2 separate regions of the Homo sapiens genome follow, and region 1 is linked to region 2. The links are contacts of gene promoters, found by promoter capture Hi-C in blood cells and fetal thymus (Javierre and others, 2016). All regions are on one chromosome and are shown on one strand. Each heading gives the region's core, a stretch centred on a gene start or on the middle of the fragment in contact. The rest is flanking DNA. Distances are from core to core; before and after follow the strand shown.

Evidence for each region. Contacts are between HindIII fragments. The CHiCAGO score rates a contact against its expected background, and 5 or more counts as called.
Region 1: a fragment that was not itself captured here is called in contact with the fragment with the promoter of PHF14 in region 2 in 3 of 17 cell types (megakaryocytes, erythroblasts and M0 macrophages); the score reaches 7.5 in megakaryocytes.

Annotation. Positions count from the first base shown.
Region 1 is chr7:11,341,613-11,344,602 of GRCh38, reverse strand. No RefSeq gene overlaps it. Among named protein-coding and RNA genes, the nearest start is that of PHF14, 370 kb to the right of the region's middle. The HindIII fragment of the contact is 5,296 bases long and covers 1-2,990 here.
Region 2 is chr7:10,972,261-10,975,344 of GRCh38, reverse strand. It overlaps PHF14 (PHD finger protein 14), which reads right to left and starts at 1,473. Exons shown (of 18, transcript NM_001007157.2): 1 at 1,021-1,473; 2 at 400-510. The coding sequence starts at 1,021. RefSeq lists silencers at 629-678, 1,659-1,718, 2,229-2,278 and an enhancer at 1,409-1,703. The HindIII fragment of the contact is 4,357 bases long and covers 1-2,055 here.

The DNA.
Region 1 (2,990 bases), core at 43-2,542, 370 kb before region 2:
ATCAAAGAAAGCCAAATAATATGCCCTTGTATAATTACATACATTCATCTATGCAAAAAAATGAGTGAATTACATAAATAAAACCATCTGATACTATATTATACCATAGGAATAGCTACGTGTTCCTTTAGTCTTTGCAAGAGCATCTGTCACAGTGAAAATACTCCACGTGATACAGTTAATGAGAAGGTTGACGACGTATTTTTGAAAAAAGTTTTTTCTAGGACAAAATGGCTCTGTGATTTTTAATCCTTCCCAGGAAAGACACCTGCACTTAATTTCACCCTTTCTTCTAAAACCATTTATTCCATTAGTTTCACCATCTCACTTTTCACAGCAAATATTACAACTCTTCAGAAGCTCTGCAGAACTTAATAAAACAGCAAACATAGTTATATATCCAGCAGTCATTTTAGACAATTAAACGCAGTTTTCAGTTTCTCTACACGAATTTGATAAGTTGGAGCCCAGACATTGCTTTGAACTGTGATGAAAGGAGGAATTTCTGTTTCAAGCGACACCGTGCCCAATTTAAATTTTGGGAACGATCACCATAAAAAGTTGTCTTGACCAATTTATTCCACTAGATGGCAGTCTTGGGATGCTACATGTAACGAAATTGTGTAATTTCTGAACATTAACCAAAAGACTAGGAAAAAGCAAGGCCATGGGAAGGTAAAATGAGGTTTAAAACGCTACAATAAGGAAATATAAACAAGCAACGGGGAAAGATTTAGGAATCACAGCTGAGACTGATAAGGGGAAACAAAAAATGACTAGACTCTCCTATCTTTATTAAGCATGCATTTTCAGATGTATAGCTCACTCCCTTTCTTGCTTTGCTTTCATTAATCAAGCCCTCATGGAGCCAGTCCCCACCAGTGAGTGGACCAGATTCAGTGTGGCCTTGTGATGATCAACTCTGGCTTATGGCTCACATGCATGGCAAGCAAAAGTGGGGATCTAAAAATGCACAGAACTGCTTTGCTGCCCTCTGAAATGGAAGGGGAAGGGAAGATAAACAGACACCAGTTAGCAATGCAAGATGGAAGATGGATCATGTTCCTATACCTCCCAAGATACCACTTTATGCTAACTGAATGATTCATCTTTTTATGCTAAAGAAAACTACTTTGAATTAAAATTAGGCCATTTCAGAATCCCAGCAGTTTGAGATCACATCACTGATTCTTTCTGACTGAAGTAAAAGCTGGAAGTGTAGCCTTACAAAGACTTGAAACTGAAAAACACTTTTTGCCCAGAATAGAGAGGACATGTAACAGTACCTCATGCCTCTCATCAGGCTGTAGCATTGCAGGTAACTGCTTAATGTGGCTTTCTATGCTTTTCCTCTTTGGACCCTTACTTTTTCCAGTACTGGTTATGAAATGGAATTCAGGCTTCAGTTATTTCAGGAATGCCACAGATGAACTCAGCAGCACTAAACCACCTGAGAACCCAAGGACAAAGAACTATCGCTGAGTCTCTCATAATTGGTCCTTATCCTTCCACTAAAGTCATCACTATTTGAGACTGAATTGCTAGTACAAAGACTGAGTAGAAATCACCTAATGGCATTCATTTACTGGGTCAAGAAGGCTGTTTATTTTATTCTTAGAAAACACTGTTAATTCTTTAGTCTCCCCTTTCAAGAATTCATCTAGCACAATATTTGTCTGTAATTCTTATTAGTAAACCAGGGCAACTCCACAGATGTAGGAGAATGGTGTCAGGTGACTGCCTCATTATGAATGTCAGACTGAAGTTTAGGATATGAATTTCTAATTTTAAAAAATAGTCAATCAGGATGATAAAAATTTAGATAATCCTCAAATGCCAAAATGCTAAAAAAAAAAAAAAAAAGAAAGAAAAGAAAAAAGAAGCCATTGAATAGCACATCATTAGGAATAATGTGGAATAGAATACAAGCATCATCACGTACGCTATTACAAAAACTTAGTGACTATATATTTTTACCTAATCAAATATTGTTATTCGTTTCAACAGAAAGTAAATACTTTCTTTATCATCCAAATTGTCCATCTATATTGCACTAAATGTGTACCTGAAAATTTCCTGTTCAAGAATCTGTATGTATTATGTTTTGAAATTCAGTGTACAATAAATCCACTGTAAATCTATAAAATAAATACGTACTTGAACAGAGATGCTCATACAAGCATACATTGGGATAATATGAATGGAATGAATGAAAATATTGAATTAAGAAGTTTGATATGGAAAATATAAGACAATGGATATATTTTTCCTGGGGACTTGGTAGGTCTTCTTAAAAGGCATAAAGGAAAATATTAATAATTTTGGCAATATTAAAATTTATAACTTTGTTGCAAAAGGCATAACAAAATTAAAATATAAGAGATTGAGTGAAGTTATTTCCATTGTGCCTCCAAGACAAAGGATTAGAACCCAGAATATATATAAAGAATACAAATTACCCAACAAAAACAAATTGGCAAATATACCCAGCAAATCTCAGGTTAGGACAAAGTATATAAATATGATCCCAACTCTTCTGTGAGCCAAGGGAAAGGCTAAAGTAAAAAAAGGACAGTTGAAAGCAGAGGTGGAAATGGAGGGAAGACAGAAGATAATTTCATTGCCTTTGCATCTCCTCAGCTGTTGGCTACAATTTTTTTAAACTTTTACTTGCCTACCATTTATTTCAACTTTTGTACATGAATTAACTATGTTTTTTTAAAAAAAAAAAGTCCAGATTTCCCTAGTTTATTGTATCAAGAAAGCCTTAAACTCTATTCACAATAACTCAAAGACACCAATGCCAGGTAGAAGAGGAGGTGGTTGAAGAAAAAGAACAGACACTCTATTGCATACAAAGATGTAACGAACATTTTTAAAAGAACAATGGTCAAGTCTAGCCTTTAGGTGTAGATTTGATTCTGCATCAAGATGATGAATGAAATCCTGTGTATGGATGGCACTCAAATTTCAGATATGGTTCTGAGATT
Region 2 (3,084 bases), core at 224-2,723:
TAAGAGATTGTCAAGTGATCTGAAAAAAGAAGAACCCTGCTCAGGGACTATTAATGGTCCACACACCTCTCAGGATACTTTTCTACTTCGGGATATCTTTCAGTTTTTTCCTCTATAATATAAGCATAAATATATTTTAAGGTGTAAAACAGAGAAATCCTTTTGCATCTTTGGAAAAAGTCCTTCCCCTGACTGCTAATTATCTCTGAGGAAAACAGAAGCAATTATAGGTCTAGTGACAGGATCTAAAGGCAAAATGGGAAATCAAATGGACAAAATAAATGAAGTTTACGTGCTTTCACTTAAAATTGGCATTTTAATCAAAACCGATTTAAAAAGTCTAAAAATAAGCCTAACTCCAGAAAGCTGGGAAAGGGGAAGAGAGAAGGAAATATTTACCTGAGGCATCTCCAACTTTAAAATCACTGTCATCTGAACTATCATAATCAAGAGCTTCCAGCAGAGAAGCTGCCAAAGGCTTCACCTGCCTCCTCTTGGAGCTGCGATCCACTGTGAAGAGAAAAAAATTACATTGTCATTCATAATCACACCAAACACAGGGGAGAGTTGTGGTGCTAAGAGAACATAAAGATGACCTCGCACAAGGAATTTTTGTCTAACTGAGTTCTCAGCAAAAGGGGTCAGGAGAAGGTTGGGGTGCAGAAGCAGGGTGGGGAGGGCTGGACAGCTCCACGGGCAGTTTCAAAGGCAGCTCCAGCCCTGATGCTGCCAACGCCAACTCAGACCAGCTAAAATCGAAGCTGACCCTCTTGCTCATCTTTTCGAGATGTTTCTGCACCTTCCTCGTAATCCCCCACTTAGACATCGTAACAGTCAATAAAAACGGCAAAAATCAGGGAATAAAACAAGCGGGCTTCATTCCCGCGGACCATGGAGGGCGAGGGTCCACCAATCCTGCTTTCCCGCAGGACTCTCCCACCCCTGCCCTGCTCCCACCGGCCCTGACTTCTAGAATGGCTGAAATGGACCTCTCGCCGCAGAGGCCTCGGATACACTTACTAAGGAATCCGTGAGGTGGTCGTTTGGAGAAGACTTAGGGAGAGGCTGCAGGAGCCCAGGCAGCGCCGAGGTCGGGGACTGGGGCCGCGAAGACAAGTCCGAAAGATGCTATTTAAAACCGGCGCGCAGCCAGCCGGACAGGGGCGCTCCCAAGAGTAGCCCCGCGGTCCCCTAACCCCCCGCCCCCCCGGCCTCGCCTGGCCCTGGCCGCTCGAGCCCCTTCCCACAGCGCTCCCTGGCCGGAGAAGACCTCCGGCCCAGGCAGCGCAGTCAACCCGGCGGCCCCGGGGAGTTAATTTCTCCCGTTAAAACTAGAAGAAAAAAAATTAAAGAAAGAAAAACTTTATTAGCCTGGACCAGAAGCAACGAAAGACCAGAAATTGCACAGCGCGAGGGCGGCTGCCTCAGACAATAGGGAAAGCAGCGACCCGGATACAGCTCTGAAAAGGAAGTGAAAACACGAGGCTGAGCGCAGCCCTGAGAGCAGCAGGAATTGAGGGCGCATGCGCAGGACTCGCCCCCGCGCACCCTTCCCGAGCAGGAGCCGAACAGAGCCGAGTGAAAGCCCAGGGAGCCGCGCGGAGGCGAGCGGAGCCGAGTAGTGCCAAGGCGGAGCAGAGATCCCCGCCAAACCCTGTGCAATTCCGCCCATAAACCCCAAAGGCTCCGCCCTCTCCGCGCCTAATTCACCTCCTGAGTCCAAATCCCTGGGAGGCCAGTTTTTGTTTCTGATCTGTTTTTTAAGGATTTACTGAGTAAACGTTCCACAAAGGGATGTTTGCTACCTTAAGCCACTACCAATATTTAAATGATATTGTCACCGGTAGAGGATCGTGACTGCAAGTTGTCCAGGTTCTTGGCGTTTTTAACAAAGAATTGGACAAAACGCCCAGCAAAGCAAAGAAAGAATGAAGCAACAAAACAACAAAAGCAGGGACTTATTGAAAATTAAAGCACGCTCTGTACGGAAGCGACCTGAGCAGCGGCTCAAGGGCCCGGATACAGAATCTTGAGTCCAAATACCCTCTAGAAGCTTCCTATTGGCCACCTAATGCTCACCTCATGTAAATGAAGTAACGCGCAATCAGTCTGATTGGTTGCAGAAAGCAGCCAACCAGAGGCTGAAGTGAAGTTACAAAGGTCATGCTCCTGTGCAAACATTGGTGCAAAAAGCAATCAATCAGAGGCTAGGGTGAAGTTACAAAGTGGTATACCTCTATGCAAAGGAAGATTTCCCCTGCAATCAGTTTGATTTCTTGCAGATGGTGAAGTTACAAAGTGATACTTCTATGCAAAGGAAGACTCTCCTGCAATCAGTCTGATTTGCTGCCCACAGCCAATTTCCCATCTGCCCTGCAGAAAAAGTGGGGGTTTGCAAAGGGAGTAGCCTCTGGTCCTTTTGTTACTTAGGCATGGAAAGTTAGGGGTTTCCTTTCAATTTAGTTCTTAGGAAGTCGGAGTGACACATCCTTAGGTTCCCTGCCTCCACACCCTATTCTCCTGCCTCACTCTCACCCAAACTATCATTGCCATGTGACCTCTCAAACTTTTCTATTGTGCTATAGAAACTTCTATTCCAAAATGTATAACCTACTTAGTAAACATTTTTCCTTTTCAATGCCCATTCTTTTTACCTCCTCATCTGAAATAGAAACAGTTACCCTGCAGCCCTCTCAAATGAAAACCACTCATCCTTCCATACTTCATTTTCTCAAGGTGCAGAAGTGGCATCCCATGCTTAATACTCCTCATTGCCTTTCAGATATTTATTCTTCCAGTTAAAATCCTAGGAACTTGGTTATTTTAAAAACTCCACTCTGGGAATTTCACTTCCATTCTACTTTAAACACCAACCATATCATGGACTGATAGTCTTATCTATGAAATTATAAATCCAAATATTCCACTGTTTGACAATAGCCTTTTAGATTTATTTGGAGCAATTATGCTGAATCATCTAAAAGAGAAATTCAAAATCTGGCATTCGTGTTTATGTAAAACTAATTTCTAGAAGGAGATTTTCAGAATCAAAATGTATTAATTCATTTACTTTAATAAATAACA